Regions from separate parts of the Homo sapiens genome. Here region 1 is linked to region 2. Evidence: promoter capture Hi-C in 16 types of primary human blood cells and fetal thymus (Javierre and others, 2016). All regions are on one chromosome and are shown on one strand. The core of a region is centred on a gene start or on the middle of the fragment in contact, and the rest is flanking DNA. Distances in the headings are between cores, read along the strand shown.

What was found. The method cuts DNA at HindIII sites, captures the fragments that hold promoters and counts their contacts. A CHiCAGO score of 5 or more calls a contact.
Region 1: a fragment that was not itself captured here is called in contact with the fragment with the promoter of PROC in region 2 in 1 of 17 cell types (neutrophils); the score reaches 6.5 in neutrophils.

What each region holds. Positions count from the first base shown.
Region 1 is chr2:127,300,035-127,305,354 of GRCh38, forward strand. It overlaps MAP3K2 (mitogen-activated protein kinase kinase kinase 2), which reads right to left. Exons shown (of 17, transcript NM_001371910.2): 17 at 1-5,320. Among named protein-coding and RNA genes, the nearest start is that of ERCC3, 8.6 kb to the left of the region's middle. The HindIII fragment of the contact is 2,726 bases long and covers 2,047-4,772 here.
Region 2 is chr2:127,414,440-127,419,747 of GRCh38, forward strand. PROC (protein C, inactivator of coagulation factors Va and VIIIa) reads left to right here and starts at 3,988. Exons shown (of 9, transcript NM_000312.4): 1 at 3,988-4,053. RefSeq lists enhancers at 949-1,711, 2,092-2,151. The HindIII fragment of the contact is 16,432 bases long and covers 2,226-5,308 here.

The DNA of each region.
Region 1 (5,320 bases), core at 2,160-4,659, 110 kb before region 2:
AATTTTCTAATTTCTATTAATGTCGAACTCCTGAGTTCTTCAACAAAGAACCATAGATAAGTATAGTTTGTAAAAGCAAAAAGGTCCATTTAAGTCAGTAATAGCAGTGCAGTAACTGATGGCTACATCTTGAAAGAAGTTAAAACATAAAGACACAGACAGTAGTTCAATGCACGCATTCATGATGCTCATACACTCATCAACAATTATTGGTCAGAGTAGTAAATCAGTGTACAAATTAAACATTTCCAAAAATGTGCAAAAATGTCAATCTTAATAGGAAAAAAACCCTTTGTACATAATTATAAACTGCCCAGCATTCAACTGAGATTAAAAACATTTAGAGAGAAACCAATAGGTTAAATATAGAGAATTTAATGGCTACATTTAAAAATGTACATTATTATGTCAAAGGGTAAATTTACAAATTGATAATCATAGTTTGCAACAATTCAAAGTTTATTCTCAAATTTATCCAAGTTTACTTTTATTTACAATGAATAAAAAGAACCATGTGAAATGTAAGAGATGTCAGACATTAAAAGTATTTTTGGTATTAACTCTTATAATATTTCAGAATTCAGGGTAGCAAATTTTAAAACCAATAACAATAGAAAAAATGTAAACCATTTACTAATTAAGATTGCATTAAAACAATTGTTGGTCTTTAAAGAAGTATTCTTATCCTTAGACACTGTACTTTCAATTGAATAGGGTGTATTGCAAGAATTTGGCCCACTTCATATTGCCCATAAGCCTCTCCAGCTCAAATGTTTCAACTAGTCCTCTCTTCTTATTCCAGGTGGAAAAAATTCTTTGGAAAAGTAAGAATACATCAAATCCATTTTGTAGTCTATCTAATAGAGTTTAAGGTGTAATTTTGTTTCTTCTCCCCTCCAAGTAAAGCTAATGCTAAAATCATCACTAGTTACATATGCTTTTAAAAAATAAATTCTAAAAAAATATTTAAAAAGAAGTGAACTTAAAAGTGCTTTTCGGTATGGTCATGAACTTTACTGTTCTCAACTGCATTAAGGGATTCTCAACTGCATTAAGGGATTCAGAAATTATTTGGGGACAAGTCCTGTACATATAGTAGAAGCAGATACTTCCTTATGTTCCAAAATGTCTATGGCACAAAGCAGACATCAGTCCAGAACCTACTTTTCCTCACAGCTTTGCTGAAATGCCCCTCAAGTCAAACATAAGTTCATAAATGTTAAGACACTAGGAAGAAAGTTCGCCATCAACCTGAGGCATCAGACGTTAATGTCTGTCTATGTGAATCAGTGGTCAAGTGACATTAACAAGATTGGCACATGTACAAGCTTAAATTCATGTCTACATAGTTCCTCAATAGTGGAAGTAACTTCTGGATGTCTAAATGCACTGATCACCTGTCCTTTTCCTTGAAGGATATACCAGAATACAAATTCTACTAGTATCTGCTTTATAATTTTTATACTATTAGCTTACAAGTGGACAGAAGTAACAGTGCTAATTATTTTGGCTATGTGTACAGGGAATATAAAAGCTTTGGTTTAAAGTGATTCTGATAATACAGATTGTGTTACAAACAAGAAGTCATCAGGCAGAAGGAACAATGGTACTGATTTAATGCCTTTGCTGTTATTAACAAAAATACCATATGACTATCAATTAAAATGCACAATTATGAAAAATAAGAATTCTATGAGACTGTATACAGGCAACAGATAAAATCTATTCTTTTCTTTACTGTAGCTATGACTCCTCCCTCATCTTTCTGAAGCTCAACCTTGAATGCTTACAGGACCACTGAAAAAAGAATCTCTAGGCTCCCCCAAGAGCTCATTTCCATCAACAGCTCTGGAAGGTGAGTATGGGAAGATGGGAGGCCCTGATACTTCCCACACCTACCATGGCATCCTGTCCAAACCATGGCAGAAGTCAAAGCCAAGCCAAAGACAACTATAAGTAGGAATAGCTGCTTCACAGCATGCTTCCCCTAGCCAACCAAAAAGAGGTACAAGAGAATTTCCTTGTGAATACTTGGTAAGCTAAGGAAGCTTATTTTGATAATGTTTGGCAGAATTTCAGTTCCAAAAAGTTCAGGAAGAACTATGTAAAATCAATTACTTTCTATTTAAGAATTATATATAAGATTATTTTACATATACACAAATTGAATTTTAATCTACCTTTAGCAACCAAGAGTATGGCAATTTACAATCAATATTATTATACAATCATTTGTACTAGCTACTTCTGGAAAATGTACTGGTGTTCCTACCCAAGGATGACTACACTCACTGTATGTCATCAGTAGGTCATACATTTGAGTTGTTCTTCCAAAACCAGAAACTGACCTAATTGAACACTCATACCTTTCCCCTTCTTCCTTCCCATCCCTGCCTCCAACTCTAACCACACACACACACACACACACATGCATGCAAACGCACACATACATGCACACATGCACACACTTCACAGAAAAGTAACTTTTCTGTGAGTATTACCCAAAATGTTAGCTGAGAATTAAGGACTAGAATCTGCTATCCCTGGATTTCCTACTCACTGTCCTATCTCATTGCCTTAACATTTGTAAACCATGTGAATGACTTCTTTAGGGCAAAAACAAGTATTGTAACTCTACCATGAAAATCATAACTGAACTATAATATGCCAAGAACTTGGACAGTGCCAATGTGATTGAAAATCAAATATTCAACCCAGAAAACATTTACATGTCTCTTTAGAACGAGAATACCTCTTTCTATGCTTGTGTTGGGAATTCATGTCTAGTGGAAGCTGCAGCATGTCTATCACAGACAAATCCTAATGTTTCTCTCCTAACATTTATTTATTTATTTATTTATTTTTTTAAAAAGGAGGTAGAAAAGGGTAGGAGGAGGCAGGCATTAAGAAACATTTAAGGACCAATACACAGTCTAAGGCCAAATGAACTTGTGAAGCCTACTGATTTTGGAAAAAATCTTCATTTTGGTGGGTAACTTGAATTATTAATATAAAATAAAATTAAGGCATACAGAGAAAAGGCACTACTAAAAATTAACAATTGGATTGCTTTTCATTAACATTTAACCAATCTTAAAATTCAAATAAATATGAACATTACATTTGTAAAACAAAGGCCAAACTTAGTAATAAAACAGTATGATCTCAAGGAACTGTCCTGATCTTAGTATAAATAACACTGTTGACAGAGTTCAATTTCTATCAAATGTTTTGGGTATTTTCACAATTTAGACCAAAATAAAGTATGTTTTCTTTAAAAGAGACACTGGGGAAAAAAAAAAAAAAGAACAAAAAAACACTGTTATGGAATAAATGCTCCCCATCACCAGAACTGTTGAGTAGAGGCTGGGTTTTGCAGTAAGAGGGGGTCCTGAGAGAGATGCTATGTGACCTGGTTGGGGAGGGGATCCCTCTAGTTTGGAGATACTTTTACTCTAATCCCTGTTGTCAGTGACATTTCCGTTTATAACAGCCAATGATTACCTAAAATTGCTTTTCCCTTAATAAAAAATAACATTTTAAAACATCATTGCTGAACTTTCAGAGTTAGCGTATGCCATAAAATAAGTAACTGTTTGCCCATGTTCCTCCTAGATTGTGACCTCCTTAAGGATGTTAATTTAGTACCTGACATAATAAGTTACAATTATTGAACAAACAAAGAAGATTCATTCTATTAAAAAAGATAGATTTGTATATTTAATTGACACCAGGTGATTTTATATCAAGCTATCAGTTCCCAGACTCCAAATAAAATCACTGGCACAGAACTTTGCCATAGGCCAAGGAGTCTGCATCTGGCTTGGTCATCCTGCTAAACTATTCACATCTGATTTTATTTTCTAAGTGATTTCACATATCTTATAACAACTCCATGTCAGAAATACTACAGAGCAGATCTGACATATATATGAGCTGGAGTAGCAGAGACTTAGTCTAAAGAAATAGTTTCATCTTTTTAATGCAGTTTCTTTGGGAATAAGGTAAAGACTCTCTCAAGTGAAAGCCAATCCAATTCACTCTGAAATCAAGGTTTAAAATTTTCTTTTACAGTTCAGCAAATGCATTAATATTTTAATTCCTTATATATGTTATGTAAGGGTAACTGTGCCTTTTAAAACTTTCTAAGGCAATAGTCATTTTTTTAAGTTAGAAAGATGTTTTGTAAACAAGGAAAAGTGCTGAAAATTTTCAAGATATTCATACTGAAATTTTCAGTCTGTATACTTTCAAATACATTTTAAATAATTAACAACCCATCAAAATTTCCACTAGTCATTATGATTTTTTTAACCCTTTTATTCAATACAACATTTTGTTTGCAATGTAAAAGATCTTATATTTGGTCCAAGCCTAAGTCATGCCACTTTGAATCTCTCAAGGCCTTAAGTAGAAAGATATTTCCTGAAAAGCACATATAAGACTGCTAGTGAATCTTCTCCAGCACCAAAAAGTCTGCCACTGTCAAAGCAGAATGCATTTTAAAGGCACAAAGTCAGCAGTCTGACCATTTTCCAGCGTCAGCAAAGAAGCATTACAGTATAGAAGAATCAATTGTGCATTTAAGAAACAAAACACATTTAGAGTTATCTTAAAAAGTTCAAATTGCATTTGTTGATCCATATCATTATTAGAAAGAAGAAAAAAACGGAGTGTTATATTTAACTTCCCCTGATAAAGCTGTTTCCTTTCAAAAATTTCTTTTTTAAATTTACTTTTGGTCTTCCATACCCTCCACCCCCACACCTTCAAGCTTTTTTGTTCTAGTAGTTTTTATATATATTAACTTTTATTGTGGTTTTTGGTACCTTCACAACTTGTTTGAAATAAATTCACATCGTATTTTATATAATAACTCTGTAAACTATTAGTCTATTTTTAAGTCTTTACATAAAGAACATTACTTTCCCATAGCTAATAATATTTTTCTTATAAAGCAAAGGCCTTCCACAGCAGTGTTAAAGTAGTAGTTTCTTTTCAGGTGCCTTTATTTTCTATAGCATTTAGAAAAGAAAACAGAGACTGAAAAAAAAACAGTTTTGCTCTGGGTTCTACAGTCTCACCAGATTTCTCTCTAAAGAGCATTTGTCTCATATTGTGCACTGCTGGTTACCCTGACAGACCAAAAACGAGCCAAAGGAAAAGCACAACTACACAAGACAGATATGAAGGAAAAGCCCACTGGTCAAGGACCATGATCTTGCTCAAGTAGAAAAGATGCCCTCATTCATAAAAGATAAAGAAATTATAATAGATCCACACACTTGGGGATTCTTTCTAGAACAAAATTTGGCAGTTG
Region 2 (5,308 bases), core at 2,738-5,237:
GAGGCTGAGGCAGGAGAATCACTTGAACCCAGGAGGTGGAGATTGCAGCGAGCTGAGATCACACCACTGCACTCCAGCCTGGGCAAGAGAGCAAGACACCAACTCAAAAAAATATATATATGTGCTGTAGGATTCCCTTTATATGCTATTCTAGAAAATGCAGATTATAGAGATAGAAATCCAATCAGTGGTTGCCAAGAGTTGGGGTGGAACACAGAATTTCTGAGGGTGATGAAAATGTGTATATCATGATGTGGTGGTGGATGCACTATAACATACATTTGTCAAAACAAGCAGAACTGTACATTTTTAAAGTGTGAGTTTCCCTGTGTGTAAATTATACCACAATAACCTGACAACAACAAAAGAGAGAGACGTTGGACTGCATCCATCCCACTCCACTTCTTACCAGGGAGCTCCCGGGAGCCTCTCTAGTGTCTGTCCTCCCTGCCCTGCCTGGGGTGGGCTGAGCAGCACAGCGTCCCTGCAGAGAGAATGGAGAATGGGCAATGCCCACACAGGGGAGTGGCATGGGGTGAGAAGGAACCTTAGTCCCGTCAGCCCTGACCACCAGCCCATCTCTCATCACTGTTCAGCAGAGTGAGCTCAAGTTGGGTTTCTGGCATCTATTGGCAGAGCCAGGGCCAAAACGCAAGGGGTGGGGAGTGTTGTACAGGTTAGGGCTGACTGAATGATCAGCCCTAATCTGTACAACGGATCTGTGCAGTCTGAGCTTCCACACAGCAGCAGCTGTCCTTGACCCCTTCCCCTCCTAGTCGGCCCCTCCCTGACCTTCCCAGGCCTGTGGGAAGTCCTGTTAAGTCCCAGGCCATGTCCACTTTGTATAAAATACTTAAAAATAAGGCCAGGCACAGTGGCTCCCGCCTGTAATCTCAGCACTTTGGCAGGCTGAGGAGGGAGGATCACTTGAGGTCAGGAGTTCTAGAGCAACACAGCAAGACCTCCTCTCTCCTAAAAATTTTTAAAAATCAGCTGGGCGTGGTGGCACGGGCCTGTGATCCCAGCTACTGAGGTGGCTGAAACAGAAGAATCGCTTGAGCCCAGGAGATCTAGGCCGCAGAGAGCTGTGATCCCGCCACTGCACTCCAGCCTGGGTGACAGAGCCAGAGAGACCCTGTTTCAAAACTTTTTTAATTAAAAAATTAATAAAAGATTTAACGTGACCCTTATAACAGTCACCTGAGACGGACGCTGACCCCATTTTACAAATGTGGACATTGAGACACAGGGAAGTTAAATCCCCCTGTCAGAAAAAGGCTAGCGGAGGTTTAAGGCCGTGGGAACGTGACTCCAGAGCTGAGGGCTTTGGAACCCCGCCTGCTCCGGTAGTTGTGGCTGGCCTTGCCCCACACACATTTGGTTCTAGCTCCTTTGCTTGGGTCTTCATCCATGCAGCGAATTCCTTAGCCACAGGTGTCCCTCTGCTCTCTAACTCACAGCGAGCTCGCTGCCCAAAGTCCTGCTCCGGCTTCCTGGGTGGACCTGACCGCGTTCGGGTGCACGTGGGGCGACTCACACCTGACAAGTAAAGCGGGTGAGGCCGCGCCTGTGAAGGGCGCCTGGCTCCTCCGCAGGAGCGGTGCGGCGCGGCGCCCCCGGCTGGAACCAGGTGTAACTGCAGAGACCCTGGGATCGCAGGAACGGCTGGCGGCAGGACTGTCCCTACCTCGAGAAGGTGACGGGGTTTCCTGCGCTGCCAGCCGATGAGGCGGCCGTGACGCAGCCCGCCGTGCAGAGTCCCCGTCGGCCGACAGGCGTGCAGAGCTCTGCAGAGGACCCTTCCGCCCTCTGGGCAGCCTGCCAAGCCGTGGCACCCCCAACCCCCAGCACTGGGCACTTGGGAGCATTGCAGCCGCCCTGGCTCGTACCGGTGCCGGTGCTTTGGGCACCTGGGCTGGTTTGGACATGGGTGCCCCGGGCAGAGTCCATTTATGCAGGTCAGAATCAGTGTGTGGAGCCTGCATAGACTTGCCCTGGAGCGGCTGCCTGTGCTGGGGTGGGGAGGAGTAGAGGGCGAGAAGTTGGTGGGGAAGGGAAGCGGCGCCAAAAGAATACCCACAACATCTTGCACCTGGAAGGCAAAGCAGAGGGCAGTGATCTCTGCAGACTTGCGGGGGCGACGCCTGAAGCAAACAGGGACATACAAGCTGGTGCCTTCTGTGGTTGTGCATGGGGTCTTCATGCTTCCTGTCTGAGTTCCCAGAAGCTTGTCTCTGCTTTTCTAGGCAGCTGCCACAGCCTGTCACAAACAGCTCCTGGTTCTCCACTTCTCATAGTCTCGATTTCAAAATCCATTGCCTCACCCTCCACCTCCTCTCCACCTCCACCCCTCCTAGCACCTCCTGACTGCTTGTGTTCTGTGTCTCCCCACTGTCTCCCAACCTGGGGTGGGGTTGGGGGGGATGTCTTTCCTCCTGTCTGCTCTTTGATGTCCAGCTGAAGTGTCACCTCCTACAGGCAGCCTCCCCTGGCTATGCCAGCTTGTACTGATTGCCCTCTCCTCTGAATTCTGTAAGCATTTCCTATGTGTACCTGCCCCTGGGCAAGGTGGGCCTGACTTGTTAGAGTGTTAGAGTTTTACCCTGTTCCTCTAGGAGGGCCTGGTACCACCACAGCCCAGCATGGTGTGGTGCCTCAGCAGGAGGCATCTGGTTACAATCAACACAAGCTGTTCCAGCCAATTTAAAGAAACTTCAGGAGGAATAGGGTTTTAGGAGGGCATGGGGACCCTCCTGCACCCGAAGCCAGGATGTGCCACCAATCATAAGGAGGCAGGGGCCTCCTTCCGCTGCTCCCTGGGACTCTCTAGGTGTCCGTGGCCTCAGTCCCCCTCTGCACACCTGCATCTTCCTTCTCATCAGCTTCCTCTGCTTTAAGCGTAAACATGGATGCCCAGGACCTGGCCTCAATCTTCCGAGTCTGGTACTTATGGTGTACTGACAGTGTGAGACCCTACTCCTCTGATCAATCCCCTGGGTTGGTGACTTCCCTGTGCAATCAATGGAAGCCAGCGAGGCAGGGTCACATGCCCCGTTTAGAGGTGCAGACTTGGAGAAGGAACGTGGGCAAGTCTTCCCAGGAACAGGTAGGGCAGGGAGGAAAGGGGGGCATCTCTGGTGCAGCCCGGTTCGGAGCAGGAAGACGCTTAATAAATGCTGATAGACTGCAGGACACAGGCAAAGGTGCTGAGCTGGACCCTTTATTTCTGCCCTTCTCCCTTCTGGCACCCCGGCCAGGAAATTGCTGCAGCCTTTCTGGAATCCCGTTCATTTTTCTTACTGGTCCACAAAAGGGGCCAAATGGAAGCAGCAAGACCTGAGTTCAAATTAAATCTGCCAACTACCAGCTCAGTGAATCTGGGCGAGTAACACAAAACTTGAGTGTCCTTACCTGAAAAATAGAGGTTAGAGGGATGCTATGTGCCATTGTGTGTGTGTGTTGGGGGTGGGGATTGGGGGTGATTTGTGAGCAATTGGAGGTGAGGGTGGAGCCCAGTGCCCAGCACCTATGCACTGGGGACCCAAAAAGGAGCATCTTCTCATGATTTTATGTATCAGAAATTGGGATGGCATGTCATTGGGACAGCGTCTTTTTTCTTGTATGGTGGCACATAAATACATGTGTCTTATAATTAATGGTATTTTAGATTTGACGAAATATGGAATATTACCTGTTGTGCTGATCTTGGGCAAACTATAATATCTCTGGGCAAAAATGTCCCCATCTGAAAAACAGGGACAACGTTCCTCCCTCAGCCAGCCACTATGGGGCTAAAATGAGACCACATCTGTCAAGGGTTTTGCCCTCACCTCCCTCCCTGCTGGACGGCATCCTTGGTGGGCAGAGGTGGGCTTCGGGCAGAACAAGCCGTGCTGAGCTAGGACCAGGAGTGCTAGTGCCACTGTTTGTCTATGGAGAGGGAGGCCTCAGTGCTGAGGGCCAAGCAAATATTTGTGGTTATGGATTAACTCGAACTCCAGGCTGTCATGGCGGCAGGACGGCGAACTTGCAGTATCTCCACGACCCGCCCCTGTGAGTCCCCCTCCAGGCAGGTCTATGAGGGGTGTGGAGGGAGGGCTGCCCCCGGGAGAAGAGAGCTAGGTGGTGATGAGGGCTGAATCCTCCAGCCAGGGTGCTCAACAAGCCTGAGCTTGGGGTGAAAGGACACAAGGCCCTCCACAGGCCAGGCCTGGCAGCCACAGTCTCAGGTCCCTTTGCCATGCGCCTCCCTCTTTCCAGGCCAAGGGTCCCCAGGGCCCAGGGCCATTCCAACAGACAGTTTGGAGCCCAGGACCCTCCATTCTCCCCACCCCACTTCCACCTTTGGGGGTGTCGGATTTGAACAAATCTCAGAAGTGGCCTCAGAGGGAGTCGGCAAGAATGGAGAGCAGGGTCCGGTAGGGTGTGCAGAGGGCCACGTGGCCTATCCACTGGGGAGGGTTCCTTGATCTCTGGCCACCAGGGCTATCTCTGTGGCCTTTTGGAGCACCTGGTGGTTTGGGGCAGGGGTTGAATTTCCAGGCCTAAAACCACACAGGCCTGGCCTTGAGTCCTGGCTCTGCGAGTAATGCATGGATGTAAACATGGAGACCCAGGACCTTGCCTCAGTCTTCCGAGTCTGGTGCCTGCAGTGTACTGATGGTGTGAGACCCTACTCCTGGAGGATGGGGGACAGAATCTGATCGATCCCCTGGGTTGGTGACTTCCCTGTGCAATCAACGGAGACCAGCAAGGGTTGGATTTTTAATAAACCACTTAACTCCTCCGAGTCTCAGTTTCCCCCTCTATGAAATGGGGTTGACAGCATTAATAACTACCTCTTGGGTGGTTGTGAGCCTTAACTGAAGTCATAATATCTCATGTTTACTGAGCATGAGCTATGTGCAAAGCCTGTTTTGAGAGCTTTATGTGGACTAACTCCTTTAATTCTCACAACACCCTTTAAGGCACAGATACACCACGTTATTCCATCCATTTTACAAATGAGGAAACTGAGGCATGGAGCAGTTAAGCATCTTGCCCAACATTGCCCTCCAGTAAGTGCTGGAGCTGGAATTTGCACCGTGCAGTCTGGCTTCATGGCCTGCCCTGTGAATCCTGTAAAAATTGTTTGAAAGACACCATGAGTGTCCAATCAACGTTAGCTAATATTCTCAGCCCAGTCATCAGACCGGCAGAGGCAGCCACCCCACTGTCCCCAGGGAGGACACAAACATCCTGGCACCCTCTCCACTGCATTCTGGAGCTGCTTTCTAGGCAGGCAGTGTGAGCTCAGCCCCACGTAGAG